Linked DNA regions of Homo sapiens: all the other regions are linked to region 3. The links are contacts of gene promoters, found by promoter capture Hi-C in blood cells and fetal thymus (Javierre and others, 2016). All regions are on one chromosome and are shown on one strand. The core of a region is centred on a gene start or on the middle of the fragment in contact, and the rest is flanking DNA. Distances in the headings are between cores, read along the strand shown. Region 1 has its middle 150 kb from the start of SNTB1. Region 2 has its middle 140 kb from the start of SNTB1. Region 3 holds the start of DSCC1 (DNA replication and sister chromatid cohesion 1). Region 4 has its middle 120 kb from the start of SNTB1. Region 5 has its middle 98 kb from the start of SNTB1. Region 6 has its middle 49 kb from the start of SNTB1.

What was found. Contacts are between HindIII fragments. The CHiCAGO score rates a contact against its expected background, and 5 or more counts as called.
Region 1: a contact is called between a fragment that was not itself captured here and the fragment with the promoter of DSCC1 in region 3, in 2 of 17 cell types (naive B cells and total B cells). The highest score is 10.9, in naive B cells.
Region 2: a contact is called between a fragment that was not itself captured here and the fragment with the promoter of DSCC1 in region 3, in 7 of 17 cell types (total B cells, naive CD4 T cells, total CD4 T cells and 4 more). The highest score is 14.4, in total B cells.
Region 4: a fragment that was not itself captured here is called in contact with the fragment with the promoter of DSCC1 in region 3 in 2 of 17 cell types (total B cells and naive B cells); the score reaches 7.6 in total B cells.
Region 5: a contact is called between a fragment that was not itself captured here and the fragment with the promoter of DSCC1 in region 3, in 1 of 17 cell types (total CD4 T cells). The highest score is 5.2, in total CD4 T cells.
Region 6: a fragment that was not itself captured here is called in contact with the fragment with the promoter of DSCC1 in region 3 in 1 of 17 cell types (naive B cells); the score reaches 6.2 in naive B cells.

What each region holds. Positions count from the first base shown.
Region 1 is chr8:120,964,976-120,968,883 of GRCh38, reverse strand. No RefSeq gene overlaps it. Among named protein-coding and RNA genes, the nearest start is that of SNTB1, 150 kb to the right of the region's middle. The HindIII fragment of the contact is 3,155 bases long and covers 38-3,192 here.
Region 2 is chr8:120,949,334-120,952,915 of GRCh38, reverse strand. No RefSeq gene overlaps it. Among named protein-coding and RNA genes, the nearest start is that of SNTB1, 140 kb to the right of the region's middle. The HindIII fragment of the contact is 2,603 bases long and covers 594-3,196 here.
Region 3 is chr8:119,853,273-119,857,154 of GRCh38, reverse strand. It overlaps DSCC1 (DNA replication and sister chromatid cohesion 1), which reads left to right and starts at 1,261. Exons shown (of 9, transcript NM_024094.3): 1 at 1,261-1,541. The coding sequence starts at 1,360. LOC105375728 (a long non-coding RNA gene) reads right to left here. Exons shown (of 4, transcript XR_928590.3): 2 at 2,353-2,480; 3 at 1,276-1,749. RefSeq lists a silencer at 1,110-1,169 and an enhancer at 1,280-1,589. The HindIII fragment of the contact is 2,867 bases long and covers 752-3,618 here.
Region 4 is chr8:120,925,805-120,929,606 of GRCh38, reverse strand. No RefSeq gene overlaps it. Among named protein-coding and RNA genes, the nearest start is that of SNTB1, 120 kb to the right of the region's middle. The HindIII fragment of the contact is 8,548 bases long and covers 1-3,802 here.
Region 5 is chr8:120,908,145-120,912,068 of GRCh38, reverse strand. No RefSeq gene overlaps it. Among named protein-coding and RNA genes, the nearest start is that of SNTB1, 98 kb to the right of the region's middle. The HindIII fragment of the contact is 8,091 bases long and covers 1-3,924 here.
Region 6 is chr8:120,859,359-120,862,910 of GRCh38, reverse strand. No RefSeq gene overlaps it. Among named protein-coding and RNA genes, the nearest start is that of SNTB1, 49 kb to the right of the region's middle. The HindIII fragment of the contact is 4,053 bases long and covers 1-3,297 here.

The sequences.
Region 1 (3,908 bases), core at 366-2,865, 1.1 Mb before region 3:
TTAAATCAGGCAAAGATAAGCAGATATACAACAAGCTTTGAAGGCTCCAACGGACTCTAGAAATCCTGGGTATTATTAGCAGTATTACAGATCTCAGTGGTCTACAACTTTTTATCTTACAGTTTTAATTTACTTCCTTATAACTAACATGGTCCCAAGAAAATGTGGAATGAACCTATTTGAATTGTTGTTGTTGTGTATGTGCTGTTTTATTTGTATTTTTTTTTTTAGTGAAATAAGACACACAGGAAATATTAGCAGACATCATAACAAGAGATTGGAATACAAGGAATAAATAGGAAGGCCTGCCAAGCTCTTCAGTGTCTAACAAAGAAAATATATTTCATTATGTTGTCTTCTGAGCATATGGGAAATGTTAAAATAAATGAACCCAACAAATACTTGTAAGTCTCATTTCTTTTGCTTCCCTGCCCCCCAACAGAAAACACTCATAAATCATTCATTTTATGTAAAACTAAAATTATTACCTCCTACTTGGCTGCTTCTGACTGTACAAACTGGTCATGTTATGTCCAACTGTTCCCAGCATCAAGAATTCAGCTGGCTCTTGCTCTAATATGTCTTAAGTTCACTAAGTTTATGTTTCTCCCACACCCACTAGACAGAAAAGCTCTTGAGGGCAGGGGCTGACTTCTCTGTAACCTCAGCTCCTCCTTCAGTGCCTGACATACCGTAGGTGCTAATTCAATGGTGAAGGAATGAGTGAGGATTAAATAATTCTTTTACCGTATGCACAGCCAGATTTTCTTTTTCATAATTATCAAATATTCATGAGTAGATTTTTCCTGTTATCAATTTTTTCCCCAAAGACGGCAAAGACTGGGTTGGATGCCTTAGTTAGGCATCCTTTAGTTTTTTTATATCTATGTAACAAACTTCACCTAATACACAAATTTCATCTTTACACAGCTGTAGTGAATATTAAATGGGTTTACACATGTAAAGAGTTTAGCACTTACATGATATGTCCTCAGTAAGCTAAAGATTACTATTATTCATCCATAAGAGGAACTGTAGTGGCTCTGAAGTCAGATTACCTGGATTCCTATCCTAATTCTCCTGTTGCTGCTATGCGATGTGACTTTATCTCTATAGTGGAGAAAAGTACTGCTCATCTCATAATACTGTAGGAGTTTCACATGAGATACTCTGTATGAAAATAATGCAAGAAAATTAAGCACATGCACAGTGCTGGAAACATAGTATGCAAATAATAAATACTAGAAAATAAAAAAAAATGCAAGAAACATGTGTTAATCACTTGCTATATACAAGACACTAGGCTAGCTACTCTGGGGGAAGAGATGTAAGATAAGACCCAGTCCCAAACCTTATGGGGTTTAGATTCTCAGCAGAATCTCAATGTAAAGCTGTCAAGGGAATAGATGATAAAGAGGACAGATAGACTTCCCCTCTGTTGTTCTCCCAGAGCTCTGGGAAAACAACATAACTTTTCTGTCATATAACTGAAAGAAAAGGGATTTATACTGCAGCCATGTAAAAGGACCATCAAATGTCTCCTAACACTTTAACTATTAGATGTTAGTGGTATATAAATAATAAAAATAACAACCTGATTAAGCTGAAAATTTTATATTTGATTTCATTTAATCCTTACAACAAAATTGCAAAATAAGTACCATTACCCACACTTTACAGATGGAAGTTCACAGATGATACATAATTGCCCAGGGTCATATATTAAGTGTGGCTATACCTAACTGCTCTATAAACCCAAAAATGCACACTGGCACTAACACAATAGACGTTCATTTCTTGTCTACTAGGTTGTTGAAGAGGAAGGCAGAGACCTGGCTGCCAGAAGCTCTGTCAATTTCGATATTCTAGCAGAATAAAGAGGAGAAAGAGGATGCAGGAGAGTATCTGGGAGGGTTAAGGAACCAGGCCTGGAAGTGGTGCACATCACTTGTGCAAAGTTTCTGTAATCTAGAACGCAGTCACCTGTACACACTTAACTCCAGGAAGAAATGGGAAATGTGGAATCTGGCTAGGTAGACACTTCTCACGTATAACTCCTTACTGTTGAACAGGAAGCATAAATATCTGTGTATCTTCAGCCCTCTCTAGACGAAATATCTGTGTATCTTCAGCCCTCTCTAGACAAGAAAGTAAGTACCAAAGTCATGAGTGAAACTCAGGTTTATCTGACTACAAAGCTCATGCTTCTAAACAAACACTGGTAACCATAAGAGCTCCTGATGGTCCCAGCACTGCTCCTAAGTGCTGTATATGTTTCAAATCATTTCATCCTCAAAACAACTCTATGAAGAGATAGACTAAGAAAGCACAACCCAGAAGGATTAAGCAGCGTGTTCAGTTCCTTCATGAGAATTACATGAGAGAGTATGTGTGTGATCAGGGCTCACATCACCCCTGTCCCTGATCTTGTTTCCTCTTTTTCTTGTACTCTTTGTTTTATGTTTAATTGACAGATAGTTATTGCATGTATTTATGGAGTACAATGTGGTATTTTGATACATGTATACATTGTGGGATGATAAAATCAGGCTAATCAGCATATCTCTTACCACAAATATTTAATGTATCTTTGTGGTGAAAACATTCAAAATTCTCCTTTTAGCTTTGTTAAAATGTACAGTTTTGACCATTTCCCAGTACTGTTCCAGTTCTGTGTGCAGCCTGAAAGCCAAGTTCTGAGAGCTGCCTGGAAGAATGTCTTCTACCAGTTATCCCAGGAGCAGAACTGAGCTGTCTCCCACAGGATGCCACCAAAGACCCCAAGACATCCTATAGACAGTTATTTTGGCCTGTATGATACCATCACTTGATTTTCTCTCTTTACAGACAGTCCTTAATGTGGGTTATCCAGGAATCCCACAACAAAACATCCCACTGAGAGAAAAAGGTTTTGGCTTTGTACACAAAGATTTAATGTACTTGCAGCTTTTGGAACACAACATTTCTCTTCAAAAGTTTGCCATAGAATGGTGACATTTGTCAAGACTAAAAAGCTATAATTCTATTCATATATTACTTTGAAGTTGAAAACTAAAATTGCATTTACTGGACATAGATTTTAAATCCTCTATTTTCAAAGTAACCACAGACCAATCTTTTACAGTGAGGTCTTATAGCAGAGTAAATTTCATGGTGGTTGCTGCTTCTAAAAGGATTTCATGACGTTAAGCTTATGAACCCAGGCTTTGGCACCAGGTTTCGTGCGTGTAAGTCCCAGCTATGTCACCTCCCGTAGATACATGACCAAGGCAAAAGCACTTAACACTAGGCCAGTATTTCCCAATCTGCTGAATGGAGCCAATCCCAGTGCCTATTTCAGAGTGCTGTTGTGAAGACTGGACTTACTGTGTCTAATGGAATCTCGCTCAGCAAAATGCTTGGTCTGCAGCAAGCACTCACCAGATTGTGTGAGCTAACTCAGTGCCCATCACAATTCCAAAAGACACAATCCTGAGCGCCATAATCCCAAGTGTTGAAATCCCAAACAATCAAAATCCCTAAAGTCTAAAATCTCTAACGTCTAAAATCCAAAAAGTCACAATCCTGAAGGATTAAAATCCCGAATGTTGAAATCCTGAAAACCAAATTCTGGGGAAGGAATTTGTGTGTTGGGTTATTCTCAGGGTAGTTGCATCATGGTAGGCAGAACTATTACCTTGCTGTTTTTTATTTGGAAATTAAGTATGGTTTAAGATGATGTGTTTGGGTGCCATGTTGACAAGGTGGGAACTTGTGGGCTTATTTTAAGTGTCAATTTGACTGGATTAAGGATGCGTAGAAACCCGGTAAAGCATTATTTTGGGGGTCTGTGAGTGTTTTCAGAGAAGATGAAAGTGTTAGTCTGTGTAGATATGGTGGGGGAAACTCTTCCCTTACGGCTTGCAGGC
Region 2 (3,582 bases), core at 646-3,145, 1.1 Mb before region 3:
TGAGAGTTCATAGTCCCAACAGCCAATATTAATACCAATATTAATATTGACCTCTGCCCCCACTGCTCCCTGAGCCACACAAAGCACTGTATGAGGCTCTCCATGCAAGCTCCGTGCCCTCCTTAAGCCAATCCCTTCCTGCAAGGAGGAGTTTCTCTACTTGGTCAGTCTGAGTCACGCACACATTCATGAATTGAAGACAAAGCCACAGGATTGAAGTTCCTACTGGTTCTATTGTAATCAAGTAGAGGGTTAAGAAGCATTTCCCAAAAGGAAGGGATGCTGAAAAAGAAAAAAAAAAAAAAAAAAGATGGACCTTACAATACCAAACGTGTGGCCTACCACATCAGCACACCCGTATTTACTTGTTCTGTTGTCAGTTGTCAGAAATCATCTACTTCTGCCTTTTAAACTAACCTACTTTTTAAACTTTTTTTCTTGAATAGTAGGATTGATTCAGAGAATCAAGGAGCAGGATGTCAGCAAGGCAGAGTAAACGTGAGGTAGACTTAAAGCAAACTGATGTAAATTTAATTCCTGGTTCTTCCAGCAACCTGTACTATTTGTGACAAATCACTTCATATCTCCAAGCTTTAAAACTTCTGTAAGTCTTACAAAATTAACCTTAAAAGAGGGAAAAATAGTCATTAGCCACATGAATGACCTCAAAAACAATTCAATACCTCCAAGCCTCACAAGTCTTTTGTTTTGTTTCGTTTTTCGTTGAGACGGAGTCTTGCTCTGCCTCCCAGGCTGGAATCAAGCAATTCCTTGCCTCAGCCCCCTGAGTAGCTGGGATTACAGGCGCCCACCACCATGCCCAGCTAATTTTTGTATTTTTAGTAGAGATGGGTTTTCACCATCTTGGCCAGGCTGGTCTTGAACTCCTGACCTCAGGTGATCTGCCCACCTCAGCCTCCCAAAATGCTGGGATTATAGGCGTGAGCCACTGCGCCCAGCCACAACTCTAAAAATCTTACAAAATAGGGCTAGGCACCATGGTTCATACTTGTAATCTCAGCACTTTGGGACGCTGAGGCAAGAAGATTACTTGAGCCCCAGCGTTTGCAGCTACAGTGAGCCATGATCATGCCACTGCACTACAGCCTGGGCAACAGTAAAACCCTGTTTTTAAAAACCATAAAAAAACTTACAAAATTAATCTAGAGAGAGAAAAGAATAGTCAACAGCCACATAACTGACCTCAGAAACAACTTTTACATATTTGATTTTCCTTAGATAAATAAGTATATAGTCTACATTATTGTGCATTCATTAGATTTTAAAGATAACATCAAGGAACATAAAACTCAACCTTATTTTGTTAAACAATAAAGATGTCTACTTTGTTCTATATAATAAACTGCCCAGGTAAAGGTTTAAATATAAGAGAAAAAAAGAAAAGTAGAAAGAGATAGAAACACCAAAAATTCTAAGAAAAAGGCAGAGACAAGCACAACGAAATTAAAAAGTCAAACCCAGAAAAACAAGCATCACAGAACCTGAGCAATACAGTGACTTCTATAGAATAGGAGCACCATCTTGTGGAAGGTAAGGATACTGCAGCTGAAGGCTTCTGATGCCTTACTCCATCTTCTCAACTATGCAACAATTGTAAACAGCAACATCACTTTCTTGGTACTTTTCCAATGAACCAAGTGAAATTAAGTAGAGGAACAAGACCCAATGTATGGACTGCAGGTTCCCCAATTCTTAGAGGAAATAATGGCTCATAGAATGTCTTCAAAACATCACAAATATGAGACACACATGAAAACATTCAGAATAAATCTAAAGGCAATGAAATTATAAGTGAGGCTGTCTTAATCTTAAGTTTTCTGTGACTTGTTTCACTGATCTCAATTAATTAGTGTATTTATTTGAATGTGAATATTTATAGAGTATATGTTATATACCCCAGATACCACTATGGCGGTGTGTGTGTGTGTGTTGCATGATTCCATTTATGTCAAATGTCTAAATAGGAAAATCCATGAGAAAGAAATTAGATTAACGATTTCCTAGGCTTGAGGTTTGGGAGCAAATGGTGGGGATGATGGCTAATTGGTACAGGCTTCCTTTTGGAAGTGTACCCTTTTGGGGGTGATGAAGAGGTCTTAAAATTGATGGCTGCTTGGGAGGCCAAGGCAGGCGGATCACCTGAGGTCAGGAGTTCGAGATCAGCCTGGCCAACGTGGTGAAACCCCATCTCTACTAAAAATACAAAATTTAGCCGGGCATGGTGGCACGTGCCTGTAATCCCAGCTACTCGGGAGACAGAGGCAGGAGAATCACTTAAACCCGGGAGGAGGAGGTTGCAGTGAGCTGAGATCACGCCACTGCATTCCAGCCTGGGTGACAAGACAAAACTCCATCTCAAAAAAAAAAAAAAAAAAAAAAAAAATTGATGGCTGCCATGGTTGCAAAGCTCATGAATGTAGTAAAAGTCACTGGAGTATTCACTTTCAAGGGGTGAATTCTATGGTAAATAAATTATATATAAATAAAGCTATTATCAAAACATGTATTTGTAAAGAAAATGCAGCAGAACTCATTGGGACATTTTTGAATATGTGTAATAAAGATAAAAATTTGCATTGATAAATATTTGTACATCATCCTTGTTAAAATATATGAATAAAATGTGTTCTGTGAAGGATTACCACTATTTGCTTGGTCTCTGTACCACACAGATCAGTCTGTACATATGATATAAAAACAAATTGTAATTTACTCCTACAGTCAAACAAATGTTGTTCTTTGACAGAGTGAACTCAAATCACTTACCTGTTTTGTGAAGCTGCCAGATACCACTTTGGGTGCTGGAGACACACCAGTGAATAATACAAGGGCCCTGGCCTTAAGGAGCTTTTGTTCCAGTGAGAGACAAATGATCAAGAAGCAAGTAATTGTAAAGTGCCATATGATATAAGATGTTATAATGCTAAATAAAGCGGTGTGGCAGACAGGAAGTGTAGGGATGAGGGAGGGGACTGCTGTTTTCTACAGAGTGGATAAATTAGTGAAAACTAAGCAGAGACATGAAATAAGCAAGGGAGTGAGTCATGTGGCTATGGAAGAAGGTAGAACCAAAAGCAGCTAATAAACGAGGTGCTTGGGCTCTGAAATCAGATATACCTGAGCCAGAATCCCAGCTCTGCCATTTACCAACTCTGTTACTTGAGCTCCCTAAGCTTCAATTTCTTCATCTACAAAATGAGACAAATAATGCATTATCCGATGTTGCAAAGGTTAAATGCATATAGAGTGCTTTTCACAGGGCCAGCCACATGACAAATGTACAGCAACTGTAGCCAACACCTATGTCAATTTGACCACGTGAACATGTAGATAGATATTTGAACACTCTTGTTTCATTTTTATGGGATTTTCAATAATAGCTAACATTTATTGAATGCTTACTCTGTACGTCTTAAAACCTCACAATGTCAAAAAAGGGTAACATTATTTTCATTTTATAGATGAAGAAACTGAGGCTTGATGAAGTTAAGTAGCTTGTTCATGTTCATGAACACAACTAACTGTGAGCCAGAAATTAGATAAAGGCCGTCTGACTACAGA
Region 3 (3,882 bases), core at 12-2,511:
CTACAATGGTTGATTCCCTTCAATAATAACTTCTTATCAGGCAACCACTGTCACATTCAGGATTTCATTCCACCGAATTCCTATGCATTCAAATGTAAAAGAGGCTAGTGAAGAAGTAGGTCACATGAACCAATCTTTCCACCACCAACGAAAGCACTGCCCAGACTCCTGGGATGCCCTACTCTGGTATTTTCGTATCATTTTACCCAAGAATTGAAAAAAATGTCTGCTCAGATCCTTTGAATTCAACACCTTACCCACCACTTTCTTTCACTTCAAGCAAGGTCTGATTTGCACTAACTAGTAGGAGGTCACCATCTCTTAAGTGATTCCTCCCAGACTATTTTAGCTCTCAGGGACAGCCAGGGCCCTCAACGATTCCCTAAGCATCTCTGGGAAAGTTTACACATTACGCTGTTACAAGCAATTCATGTATGTGTGCATAGTGAAAACCTTTTCTCTTAAAACTCTTAATACTGAAGTTCCCCAAACCTTTGGAAAATGTACAAGTCACAGATGCTCCTGTGACTTGTTTTTCCCTTCGGGTGCGTCCTCAACCTTGCTTAAATAAACCTCTATTGAACGAGACCTGCATCAGTCACTTTTCGGTTAACACTAGGTATTCAACGAATAGACTAGTCCCGCCGTTGTCTCCAGATATGATGGTGCCCTGACCCAAAGAAGCGAGATACTCCTTCCCAGGGCCTCGCTCCCGAGCATGGGTTATTTGCACAAAACCCCGCAGGAAGCTTTTAGAGCCACAGTCGGCTAGGCTGGAGTCAGACTCTGTTACCTCCTGACTCTGCCATCACGAGCAAGGAGCCTGCTTCCTCATTGGCAAAAGGGAATGACCAAGGCACCACCTTACAGGGTTGTGGCAACGGGCTCATGGAATTATACATGCCAAGTGGTTATCACAGGGCCCGCCACTGGCGGAAGGTGAGACAATGTGGACGGCGAGGAAATGGGAGCATCGGCTGGAAACCAGGGACGGAGATCGGGGATGGGGGGCGGGCAAGGGGACAGCGGAAAGGGTGGGCGAGGGATCCGTGTCCCAACCCGCCGAGTCGCAGCTCTGCCCCTGCGAGCTTCCGCCGAGACCGCCCCCCGGGAAGCCGCGTTTCCTTCCTGCAGTCGCGGTCCGGCGTGGGGCACGGAGGGGCTCGCGCTCCCAGAAGCCGGCAGGCCTTCCCGCGGGCGGGCCCGCAGCGCGCTCCGCCCCGGAAACACGCCCATGGCCGCCTTGGCGCGCTTTCAAACGCTCAGGTTTCCTACCTTCCGGCTGCTTGGGAACTTCTTTCTTGCCCGCCAAGCCCGCAGCCACCCGGGCGCGGCGGGACTCCTAGACCCGGCGCTGCGATGAAGAGGACCCGCGACGAGGTGGATGCGACGCTGCAGATCGCCAAGCTGAATGCGGCCGAGCTGCTGCCGGCGGTGCACTGCCTGGGCTTCGGCCCTGGGGCCAGCGGCGCTGCAGCCGGCGACTTCTGCCTGCTGGAGCTGGAGCCCACGCTGTGCCAGCAGCTGGAGGATGGACACAGGTGAGCCCTGGTCACGCGGCGCCCCCAGCCTCTGGCCGGCCACGTTATTTTCTCAGCGGGGAAAGTCGGGATAAGAAAACAGGGCCAGAGAGATGCACTGACCTGGCCGGGGGCTCATAGCAAGCTGCCTGTTCCCGAGGAGTCCACGCCTCCGGTGGGCCGTCCAGTTAGCTGCACTGCGGTGATGAGTAGCACTGGTCCAGCTGACCTTGGAGGCATGTGTCAGCGGGAGCAAGTCAGGAAATACTAATACAACCTCCGTGAAGTTTTTGAAGAGTTACCGGTGATTACAGGGACTCTACAGGACACCTGTCACTCTACCTTAAAATACAGTGGTGATACCCAATGTTTATAGAACTCTTGCCTTCCACTTATATTTATTTTACTCAGATGATAGATAGGAAGTGCTGGGAATCAGCTTACAGACTTGGTAATTGGGTGAGACCCCTACCCACCCCGAAGCAAACTTGCTTAGTAGGGATCTGAAGCTGTTTCTAATTCCAGGTCAGATACAAACTTGCTGCAAGATCATTGATTAGAAGTCGAAGTTGAGGTAGTTTTTTAAAGGCAGTCTTGAGAAGTCTAGAGAATCGTTATATCCCTCCACCCTGTGCAGCCCCAGCTCCTGCAAAATAGGGAGCTCCAGCTTGATTCTCTTTTGCACAATTGGTCCTCCGACACCTATATTTTATTAGGCTATTTTTTCTCTTTTTTCTTAATGGAATCCTTTAGGCTGTCTTTCAGTTTTCGTACTTTGCCCACCAAAGAGTGTTAGAGTAAACTGGCCATTCTTCAGATACCTGCTATATACCTCAAAGTACCTTTAAGGGAACTGAAAGAACTTCACTAGTCTGTTTCCATCCCGGTTCAGTTGGTGGAGAGTTGAGAAAGGAACTCAGGTGTGAGGACTTTCTCTCGGTCCAGTTCTAGTTAATCTAGCTGGCAAAAACAAAACAAAACAAAAACAAAAAAATAAAAACAGGCCCTGGAAACGTGTGTTTTTAATTTTGGGGTGTAGGGAGTGATGGTATAAACAAAATATTTCAAAGTGGGGGTAGTGCAGTTAGAGAAATAAATGTTAAAGACTAGGTACTTGGGCCTATTAAGCATTATTAGCATTAGGAATCTAAAAAACCTTTTATTCTTTTTACTTAAATGAAGACTTAGTCAAAAATAAATACACAGTCTGCTATTTCAGGTTTCTTATTATTTATTCAAAAGAAACGAGTTGTGCACAGGAGAATTAAATGCTTTACAGACAAGGAAAACTGCTAGAACCAACTCCCCTGTCATTGCCATCATCTTTGTCTTTAATCCTTCCTTTTCCTCCGCTTCACCTTCATCCTTTCCTCTTCCTTCTTTTTTCTTTATCTTTTTTTTGGGGAGAGAGTGGTGGGAACAGGGTCTCACTCTGTCAGCCAGGCTGGAGTGCAGTGGCACAATCACGGCTCTCTGCATGATGGTGCCATGACTACTTGGGGTCAGGCGATCCTCCCACCAGCCTCCTGAGTAGCTGAGACTTAAGGTGTGCATCATCACACCCAGCTAACTTTTAAATTTTTCTTTTGTAGTGATGGGGTCTTGCTATGTTTCTCAGGCTGGTCTCAAACTCCTGCTCTCGAGCGATCTTCTGGCCTCAGCCTCCTAAAGTGCTAGGATTACAGGCATGAGCCACTGCGTTCTTGCTTTTCTTCAAAATCCCTTTGTCAAAGTCTTTGGTTTAGTACAGTTTTTAAACATATCCTTTTCATATTTTTCATTCACCACTGCATCCTTTTTTTCATAAGGTCCCAATTTTTTTGCAACACAACTTATGGTTAGGCCAGGATGTGCTCCTTTGATTGTGAGGGGGTACTCAGAACAAAACAAGGACGACACTTGGGTGGGGTACCATGAGCAGCAGCTTGGCCTTGGCCTTTCTTCGGGAACTTGTTAGAAATACGGGACCCTGGGTCCCATCCTAGACCCAGTGTATCCCACTCTGCTTTTGAACAACACTCTCTAAGATGCCTATGCATAAATTTGAGAAGTACCACTTTAGCATGTTGTAGAAAATTGAGACAGCTTGACTGAAGCTTCAGGATGCTTTGTCTTGTGTTCTTTCCAGCAGTTTGCACAAGATGCCATGTAGTGCCATTTGGCCTCTTGGCCTCTATGGATCTGTCTTGCCCATCTTTAATTATTTTTCCTTAATGAGGCTCTGGGTGGGGCGTCTGTGTGGCTCTCAGTTGGCCCAATGCTTGCTGTGTGGAATCCAGCATTGTGCTAGCAGGGGGCAGAGGCAGCATCAAAACTTAATTCTAAGTTCTGCAAGCCTAGAGGGTTTGAGAACTGTTTATGA
Region 4 (3,802 bases), core at 766-3,265, 1.1 Mb before region 3:
TAATAACTTGTCCAAGGTCATTTAACTGGTTATTTCATGACAGAGCCAGGACTGAATCCCTGATTTTCTGACTTCTATGTAGACTTTTTTCTAAATCATGACAAGCTCTGAGTTACTAGGTTTCATTTAACTCAATAAATATATGTTCTGCATATATTGTGAACAACAAATTGTGTAATATGTTAGTTTAATGGATAGCACTTTGTTTCAAAGCACATTTTATAATTTAATATTTTTGCCAACCTTGTAAAGTTGGTTAGACAAGTGGTTTGGAGGTAAGAAAATCTAGGCTTAGAATACTTGAATGACTTTTCCAAGGTCAAGTGGCCAGTGAGTAGCTACCAGTATAGAACACATGTCTTCCAATGTTCTTCCTTCTGCCTCTCTTTTAATGTAATGTTTCATTGCAAGTGCTTAAGGTATAAATTAGCACAGCTTCTCAGGATTTGTGATGACTTCTCAGAAACTTCAGAAAAATACATTCCAAGATATTTATACTCTGTACTATTTTTCTTTTATTCATATTTTAATTGAAAAATAAAAATGTGGTTTTTTAAATATTTATGGTGTATAACATGATGTTTTGAAATATGTGTATTGTGGAATGACTAAATCAAACTAATTAACATATGCATTACCTCCATACTTATCAGTTTTTTTTGTGATAAGAACCAAATTTTCAAGTATATAAAATCTGCACTATTTCTATAGTTCTTCAGGCTGCTAATATTCAGAGTGCTTAGCAGTCACAGTGCTAACATAGATGGTTTTATAGGAGGTATATTTGTTTCCTGGGGCTGCTGCGACCAATTACCACAAACTTAGTGTCTTACAATGATGGAAATTTATTTCCTCACCATTCTGGAGGCCAGAAGTCTACAACCAGGGTCATACTCCCCACAAAACCCCTAGGGAAAAATTTGTTCCACATCTCTTCCAGTTTCTGATGCCTGCCAGCTTTCTTGGCTTGTGGCTACATCACACTAATCTCTGCCTCCATCTTCACATAGCCTTTTTCTCATTGTATCTATCCCCCATGTGTATCTTATAAGCATGCTTGCTATTGGATCTAGGACCCATCCAGATAATTCAGAATGATCGCCTCTTCTCAATATCCTTAACTTAATGACATTTGCAAAGACACTTTTCCAAACATCACAACATTCACAGGTTCTGGGGACTAGGATATGAATATATCTTCTGGGAAGCAAAGGAGAAGAGTTATTCATTCAAAGGTCAGGAGCTTAACAAGTGAAGTGAATCAAAGCTCTGCCAAAGTGATGACCAAGCATTCTCTTTCCCAAACAGAGTCTTCAGTTTATGTACAAATTTTGAAAAAAGTCCAAGAGGTCAGTCTTCTGAAAAAATTCCCTACCATCAGCTTTGTCAGATAGCCATGAGTCTTGCGCTGGAGGTGAGAATATATCCAGCAAGTTGGGCCTGGCTTACATGCTTGGGCATATGCCCTGTTTATATGATACCCTCTGCCAAAGTCAGCTTCATGCCAAGAGGCAAACTTGAAAAGCCACTGTCGAAACAAGAGCTCCTGTTTATCTCTGACCAGCATAGCAAGTTCTCTGCATCACTCACTCTCAGAGAGCCGGCCACTAGACTAGCCATGCTCTTCCTGCTGATCCTTTGAACAAAGATTGATAGGTGTTGATTTCCAACTCCAGAGCTGTGTCTGTGATGTATCACAATCTGAAGAACTTACATATAAGGGATAGTCTTTCAGGGACTATTGACACCTCTACTGTATGATTATTCTTCCATGGGAAAGACATCCTCTTTTCCACACTATTGGGAAGAAAAATAAGGGAATTGATACTTACTGAGCACGATGAGTCTGTTTAGTTTGCCCCAGATCCACTCTCAATCCTTATTTAATCTGTTTCACAGCTGACTCCTGTGACCTTAATGGACTTCCTTACCAAATGGCTTCAAGTTAGGTTTAACCAATAGAAGACCCTGGAGGAAACTAGAGGGACGAAAAGAGAGGGAAGAAAGCTACACAATTCATTTCCCAATTCCCCAGTGATTGCCAAGGGCTGGGCACATTTCTCCACAAAAGGTCTCAGCACCTGCCTGATAGTTCTCCCTACACAGCCTTCTTAGGTTCTCCCTGGATCCCAGGAAACACTTCTTCTGCTCACATCTTCAGGCCTAAAGTTGGTGACCCCAGAATATTGTACTATATCTTGTAGTTTTCCTCTGCCCTGCCTACACATTGCCCTGCTCTACATTTTCCTCAAGTTTTCCTAATTTGAATGGGCCATGTTTTCTGGCAGGACTCGGACTGATGAAGCCCCAGTTGTTTTATGATATTTGCTAGATGTTTTGTTTTGATGATTACAACAGTCCTACAGAGTAGATACTCTTAACTCCATATTATAGATAAGGAAGCTGAGGTAATACTGCCCTATGAGGTGATATTGCGCTATGAGAAACAGCTAGCAAGTGAGCAGTTAGAAGTCAAACCCAGATCTGTCTAACTTCAAGCCCTTGGATTTTCAGCTATTTCTTCTCAATACTGAAGATATATCTCATAGGATGCCTGGAGAAACAGGGAGTTTTAAGGCACAAAAATGGCAGAATGGTTCAAATGCTTTATTCAAAGTTAACCTTTATAAAGCCATTCAGAGGCCCCAACTGTCTTTAGTATTACATGCAAAAAAAAAAAAAAAAAGATCCTGCAGACACAATAATTGAATGTAATTTATGTCTTTACTGTAGTTCCCTAAAAAGGAGCCAGGAGTAGATTACATTTATAATGCAAAGCCAAACTTCTTAAAGCCTCTTTCCGTTATCATTCTCCCTGTCTATATATGTCACATATGGCAGCTACTCACAAAATCAAATCTTTTTCCTAACCACCTCCATGCTCTCAAGATCTCCAATAACATACTTTCGGCCTCCTAGTCCCTTTGTCCTTTCTTTTTGTTGTTGTTTTCCTCCTGCCAGTAACTCTCTGCCTTTTCCAACAAAAATCCCTCTTGTCAGGACAGCATTAGGATAAATATCTAATGCATGTGGTGCTTAACACCTAGATGATGGGTTGATGGGTGCAGTAAACCACCATGGCACATGTATACCTATGTAACAAACCTGTATGTTCAGCACATGTATCCCAGAACTTAAAGACTAAAAAACCCTTTTGTCTTTTATTTCTTTTGGTTCCTGTCCTCAATTAACACACAACTGAAGAACTACTTGATAGCTACCTGAGCAACATATGCATTTTGTTGGGAGACTGGGAGTTTTGTTAATATACGAAGCTATTTGTTAACAGTTTTTCTGCCACATAGTATAGATTTACTGTTATTTCTTCAAGAAGAAAAGATGTTGGTGTCTCATATAAAATCTATGCTAAGGATAAAATATGTATTACAATTGCCTGGAGCAAGAGAAGGGTAGTGGGAGAGAGTGAAAGGACTATTCAATTCACATCATATCCATTCCTTCAATACACCAGCAAGCTATAGTGTAAATATTTGTTTGAACTCAAGTGTTTGGAACTCTGGACATATTTTGAGAAACATCATTACAGACTACATTTTTTAATCCATCATAAATAGTATTTGCATTAAAATTATAACAATTAATGATGATATTTCCTTATCAATAAATTCACCCTCTGTCTTCTATGTCCCAATCTAGTGACGCGATCATACAGTCAAGCTGACCCAAGAGGAGCTCTATCTACTAGAAAGTGATTCTAAGAACCATTACATTTCACAGCTTTTCTTAAACACCTTAATTGGCAGAATTCAGTAAAAGGTAGAATAAGTCAGTACAAGCAATT
Region 5 (3,924 bases), core at 249-2,748, 1.1 Mb before region 3:
CCTCTCTCCACCAAGATGACATGTCTAAGGGACAGAAATAGAGCCACTAATTCTATATGGAAATATATGAATGCGGAATAATATTCCTCCTAATAATGATATTTACCTATGACCCTTCCACTTTCCAACCATGGAAGCTCAGTTGTGTTAATTTTTCTGAATTTTGTGACACTTTTAATGACAAAAATAGCTTTCAATTTTCTTCTCTTCACTGAGGCCATTTCCTCCTTGGAATCTCTCAGAGGCTCCTCGATTTCCATGAATCTTCATGAAGGTCAGTATTTCCTGGGTCCCTGTTTTTGACCCTCCTGTAACTCTAAGTAGACTTTTAGGTGGTCTTAAAAGCATGTGTGATTTCACAAAGTATTTCTTGCCCCAAATTTTCTTTCAGTCAAGCTCCAGGATTATATAACTGATTTCTTAGTAAATATCTCACTGTGACCATCCCGTCTGTTTCTCACAAAGGGCTAGATCATGGCGTCTGAATCTCCAAGTCCCAGGGCAGGGCCTGACACATAGCAGACACTCAAGAAAGAAAGGATGGAGGAAGGGTAATTGAGAGAAGGGATACAATAGAGAAAGAAGGGAGAAGGAAAGGGAAGGAAGAAAAAAAAAAGAAGGAGAGACTGAAGAAGGAAGCAAACCTGAGGAGCATTGCTTTCATTAGTAATGAAAGGGAGAAAACATTTATAACTAGACATGTTTCCAATGTGTAATAGCTTTCTGAATTGGGGGCAGTTGATTAAACTTTCTGAACTTCCATTTTCTCATTTATAAAAAAATATTTATTTCAATACATTAGTTTGAGAAGTAACCAAGTTAATGTCTGTGAAAATATCTAGTACATGTAATAAACACTCAATAAATGTTGGTTACATTAAGGTATGCATTTTAAATCATCAAAGTACTGCCGACTGCTGAATTCTTTAAAGTACTCCATTGTACTTCACTTCAGACTTGAAAACCCTGATTTTGAATAAGACACCTGGATTAGGTCCCAAAGAGCCACCATATGGAAGAATTTCACTTGGGGCTCTTCCTATAAAACCACATCAAATATATAAATGTGGGCTGACTCCAGTCTATCTTCAAGTGGGTGGGGCACCCACACTCACTGCTACAATTATGTAGTGGAGCAGCTCAGTGCTTATCTGAAATCTTGATAATTATAAAAGGAGTCATATAGTCTTAAATAGCTTCTAAAAAAACACTACTGTAAAACAGAAGATGATAGTGTTTGCCTCAAAATAGATATCCAAACCGTTCCCTTTCATGATTGAAAACATAATAGTAAACTTAACTTCCTGTCCTGAATTCCTCATTAAACTTCTCTGTAGTTGAGTGAGTTTTAGAATTTCTCCCAAGCTGCAAGTCTTCAGTGACAGGCCTGGAATTTGGTGTGGAGAGAAGAGAGGCTGCAACCAGGATTGGGAATCCAGGTGCCTGCACTCATTTCCCTTAACCTGAAAACTGGCTTGGTAGGAAGCAAGAGGCTCTCAGTATTATATGTTACCTTCAAAATGGCCAGAGGGTGTAACTCCCAGCAATTTTTTTAAAGATTATATGGTGTATTAGTTCTTTCAGCACAAGAATTTTATATATATGTATATATATATATATATATATATATATATTTTTTTTTTTTTTTGAGATGGAGTTTTACTCTGTCACCCAGGCTGGAGTGCAGTGGCATGATCTCGGCTCACCACAACCTCCACCTCCCAGGTTCAAGCAATTCTCCTGCCTCAGCCTCCCAAGTAGCTGGGATTACAGGTGCCCACCACCAGACCTGGCTAATTTTTTTTGTATTTTTAGTAGAGACGGGGTTTTACCATGTTGGCCAGGCTGGTCTTGAACTCCTGATCTCAGGTGATCCACCCGCCTCGGCCTCCCAAAGTGCTAGGATTACAGGTGTGAGCCACCATGCCCGGCCTTGTCTTAATATTTTTAAATCTCCACTCGATACCAAGCATAACTTCTGACACATTGTAGGTATTGATAATCATTAATCAAAAGAATAATAGAAAAATCAAATGAAGGGAAGATTTGAAAAAATAACCAAATGAATAATTGAATGATGAATAAATAAGAGTCTGAAGGACAGTTCAATAGGGCTTTTCATGATTTTACTTTTATGTTCAAGAGTACATCTGCAGGTTTGTTATATTGGTAAATTGCGTGTCACAGGGATTTAGGATACAGATTATTTCATCACACAGGTAATAAGCGTAGTAACTGATAGGTAGTGTTTCTATCTTCACCCCCTCTCACCTTCCACCATCAAGTAGGTCTTGGTGTCTATTGTTCTCTTCTTTGTGTCCATGTGTACTCAATGTTTAGCTCCCACTTATAAATGAGAGTATAAACTATTTGATTTTCTGTTCCTTAGGATAATAGTCTCCAGCTGCATCCTTGTTGCTGCAAAGGACATGATCTTATTCTTTTTTATGGCTGCATAATATTCCATAGTGTATACATACCATATTTGCTTTATCCAGTCTACCGTTGAGAGGCATTTAGGTTGATTCAATGTCTTTGTTATTGTAAATAGTGCTGTGATGAACATGAGATGCATGTTCTTTATGATAGAATGATTTATAGTTCTTCGGGTATATACTCAATCATGGGATTGCTGAGTTGAATGGTAATTCTGTTTTGAGTCCTTTGAGAAATTGCCAAACTGCTTTCCACAATGGCTGAACTAATTTACACTCCCACCAGCAGTGTATAAGTGTTCCCTTTTCTTTGCAAGCTCACCAGCATCTGCTACTTGATGACTTTTTAATAATAGTCATTCTGACTGGTGTGAGATGGTATCTCATTGTGGTTTTGATTTGAATTTCTCTAATGATTAGTGAGGTTGAGCATTTTTTCATATGCTTGTTGGTTGTATGTATGTCCTCTTTTGAAAGGGGTATATTCATATTCTTTGCCCACTTTTTAATGGAGTTGTTTGTTTTTTCTTGTTAATTTGTTCAAATTCCTTGTTGATTCTGATTATTAGACCTTTGTCAGATGTAAGGTTTGCAGATATTTCCTCCCATCTGTAGACTGTTTACTCTGTTGATACTTTCTTTTACTATGCAGAAGCTCTTTAGTTTAATTATGTCCCATTTGTTAATTTTTGTTTTTGTCGCAATTGCTTTTGGCATCTTCATCATGAAATCTTTGCCAAGTCAATAGGGCTTTTCAAAGTGCTTAAAGACTTACAGAAGTGTCCAAATTTGGGCTTACATATTCAAGAACTACATTTTACATGGAGTGATGAGATGTGAGGGTCTAAACCCATATTAACCTGACTCATAAATCAATGATTAATCAATTAATCAATGATTAATTAATCAGTGTCAAATTACTAATTTACATTGAGAAAACTTAACTTTTAGCACTCAAAAATGCTTAGCCTAATTTCTGACTCACAGTAGGCATGCAACCATATTTGCTGACTATGCATAATATTTAGTCAACTCAACAAATATTTAATGAGCATACGCTGTGATCCAGGCACTGAACTTAGCATGGGGGATACAGTGGTAAGTAAATCTATCATATCATGATCAGGCAAGCCTCTTTAATGGAAAAGTCTCTATGGGAACTTGATAAAAATAAAAAAGTTTGCATGTTGCATATAAAACCAGAGAAAAGAGAATCTGATGATCTCAATAATAATTTTATTATCTGCTGGGTAGATATATACATCTTTCTACCTTCTTGATCTAGTATGTCACCTTAAAAAGAGCTGGCACCAGACACTTGGATCATAAATATGGTATTTTATCCTGGGCATGCTCTTTTGCTGTGATCTCTTTACCTTCAAGCAGAGGTCCAACACACTGTCTCCTTATTTCTGCATCTTCATAAACCTCACCCAATGCTTAGTGCCTACTGGCCATCTAGCACTTTATGAAAAACTATGAAATAGTG
Region 6 (3,552 bases), core at 22-2,521, 1.0 Mb before region 3:
GTCCAGAAATAGTTGCCTTGTGTATTTCATCCAGTTATCCAGTTGTTTACTATGAGAGGATTAAGTCCCATCACGGTTACCCCATTATAGTCAGAAGCTGAGGTAAGCATGTATGAAATTTGGCAACTTATACAAATAAAAATGTTTTCTTCTTAAAAAGTAAATGGGTTTTTCTTTTTTTCAAGGTGATAGATTGGAGGCATTTTTAGCATGCCTCTCCCACTTGGAAAGACAAAATAGTGTGTCGAGATTCTCACTCTGAAATTTTTTCCAAGAAGCAACACGGGAACTTAATAGAAAAACCGAAAGGAGCTACAGACTCTTGGAAAGAAGCAGGAGGAAGTAGCCTCCACCACGAACCAGGTAAAAAACTGGGGGTTTGCATAGTGTGAGAAGGGGAGAGACTGCCTCTGTGACACACTCCCACTGGGGAGCCAGGCAGTCCAGGCCCTGGAGAAAAGTTGTGACTCTACCCAGTGCTGGAGCTGATTTAATGAGTGGTGGGGAGTATGTAAGAAGGAGCAGCATGAAGATATGCTTTGTGTGCAGTCCCAGACTCCAGCGGGGTGGAGGGAAGCCATTCCTGATCCTGTCTCAGGGGACCTTACAGAAGTCTGCCAGCTAACTCAGGCAGTGGTCACAGGTTGACAGAAGCTCCGAATTGATATTTGTGATATAATCTCAAGGGGGATGAAACCTGATGCCCAGAACCAAGGGGAGAGCAGGAAGTGTGCTAAGAAATGGGCACAGGAGCTGGGTGCCTGCTTTGTGGATGGACTGGAAGGGGTATAACCTGAAAGCCACTGTTTCTGTCTCAGTTGGGTAGGCCTAGAGCCTGGGGCAGTTTTGAGTTCTGAGTACAGGCTGCCTGGAACCCAAGTGTGAGACCTGTATTGCCAGATAAGTAGGAGCTGAGTAGCTGAGTGGGGCTTATTGCCACCTGCTATCCCCTGCTTCCTGCGTGGATCTTTTTGTGCAGCAGAGGCAGCTGTGCTCCTCCCAGCAGCCAGGGAACAGCTGTCTGATCTTCAGTGGGGCCACTGCTTGTGTCCACACTTGGGAAGCCAGAGTACAAACTTGCCTGACCTAGGCCCTACCAGGCTCTGCCCTTCCACCTACCCTGGTAGTGTAACACAATGGAGAGGAATATTTGGAAGCTCCATGGCCTTACCCATCACCTGAGATACCAGAGTACCTGCAGTGGGTAACATAAGGCGAGCACAAATTCCACTGCTACCACTGCAGCTGGTGCTCTTTGGCAAGCACCACCTCCTGGCTGGAGGCCAGCTGGCACAGCCCATTGCAACATCTGCAGGCACAATAACACAGCACTCAGGAAGGAGAATACTTTTATGTAACCTCAGCGATCACAATTGCTTGCATCATCCAGGCTAACCAGGAGGCCTTGAGTCTATCCACGTATTTAGTATATTACTATGACAAGCCTATTTATATCCAGGAAATCCCAGAGTCTATGGCACTACCCTCTGACCCCCATCAGGAATGATGCTGTTACCCACTACTAGGAACATCACATCACTGGATCCCCTGCAGACATTCCCCAGCACCAGACTGGAGTACAGCAGCCCCACTGGGTGGCTAGACCCAGAGGAGCAGCAGGATTCACAGTAGTCTTGCCCCCGCAGGGACTGCTACTCCTAGGGTAGAGGGAATGCGCCATGGACATCTGATGGGATGTCTCATGGGACATCTCAAGGGAGCATCCCATGAGACAAAAGAAATCAGGCTGCAAGCCCTGAGTCCCCGAGCTTTCCACTTGTGGGCAGTTTCTTTCAGCAGAGGCATAGGCACACTGCTAGGCTCACTGGGGAAAGTCTAGTCTCAGATCTACCCCGACAGTCAGGCAGCCCTCCCACTCATGAAGGGTCTTGGAGAAGGGAACAAATGGAGGATATGAATGAAAAAAAAATTAAACGAGATAAAGAGATATTTTAAAGAAAAATCAATCAGTATTTCTGGAAATGAAAGACATATTTAGGGAATTAAAATATGCAGTGTAAAAGTTTAACAATAGACTAGACCAAGTAGAAGAACGAACTTCAGACTTCAAAGACAAGGCTTTCAAATTAACCCAATCAGAAAAAAGTAAAGAAAAATTACAATCCTAAATATATATGTACCTAACTCCAGAGCTCTCAGATTCATAAAGCAGTTAGTACTAGACCTAAGAAAAGAGATATACAGTAACACAACAATAGTGGGAAACTTCAGCACTCCACTGATTGAACTAGACAGATCATCGAGGCAAAAAGTCAACAAAGAATCACTGGACTTAAAGTGCACCCTATATTTAGTTTCCCCTTTTTCCTTAGTAAGAGAACCAAGGTTTGGTTCAGGGTAGCTGGCTTTGTCTCAGCTTCCACTGTGGCTAAGGGTAGCTACATCACATAGTGTGGCTGACGAGATGTAACTGGATATCACTAGGAGGGATTCAGGGAAAGTTCCATAAAAAAAAGACACACTTAACTAAAATAAGTGCTGTGCCCTTCACCTCTGTCCCTTATTCTATGTAGATTGTGAACTTGACACTGGAAAAGGGGCTTTCATTTTGCAATCACCAAACATTTTTGAAAATAAAAACCCCATGCCAATGGAGTCTCCATGGAAACACAGAAGAAACCTGGGTTACTGGGAGTGTTGTTCAGCTACAAAATGAAGTCCGAACTGCCCCTCTCAGCACTTCTATTTATAGGAAAGAGAAACAGATCCCTGAATTATTAAGGAACCATTTTTTCAAGTTCTCATGACATGGAGCAGAACACAATCCCTAATGAATCATTGATACAACCATATCTTTTTTAAAAACATAAAAATAAAAAATTGAAAATGTGGCTATACATGAAGAAATTATGAGAGTGTCAAGTAAAGAGTTTAGATGCTCAAATGTAGGCACTAGGAATTGTCCAAAGAAGCACGTAGGATACCCTCCAAGGTGGAAACATAGAGCAAAAAGTAGAGATATGAGGAAATCATGAATCAGAATGAAGAGTGGTGAAGAGATGGACCAGGTGCTAGGTATTAAATAGTTGAAAACACAGAGCTTCAGCCATCAATGCCTAGACTGAATTAACATCAGCGGCCGCATCCAAGGGCAGATGGAGGCTTCCCATCCAAGCTAAACATCGTAAAACAGCATGAACTCTGCTGATAGTACACTCCACTGTGTAGAGCGCACCCAACTTCCCTTCATAGTGACATAACATTTAGTTTTAAACCAAACTTTCTGTGCAGCTGGTATGAAGTGGAAAGGCTGGGTCTGAAGTTGCCAGTGAAGCTTCTAGAGAGGAGGTGGGGTCCAAAGCTAACAGTACTCAGGGCTCACTTAGCCTTCCTTTTGCGGCTCATGCTTTCATGTATTCATTTGCTCATTTTTTTCAACAAACTTTTTGAAGTTGAGTATCTAATATGTATAGGTATTGCTAGCAAAAAATGGAAATCGCTAAGTACTAGCAAAGTATAATATTCAAAAAGACAAAAACATGACTCACATACAATATATAATGATTAATTTATATTAACTTCAGAAGGAAT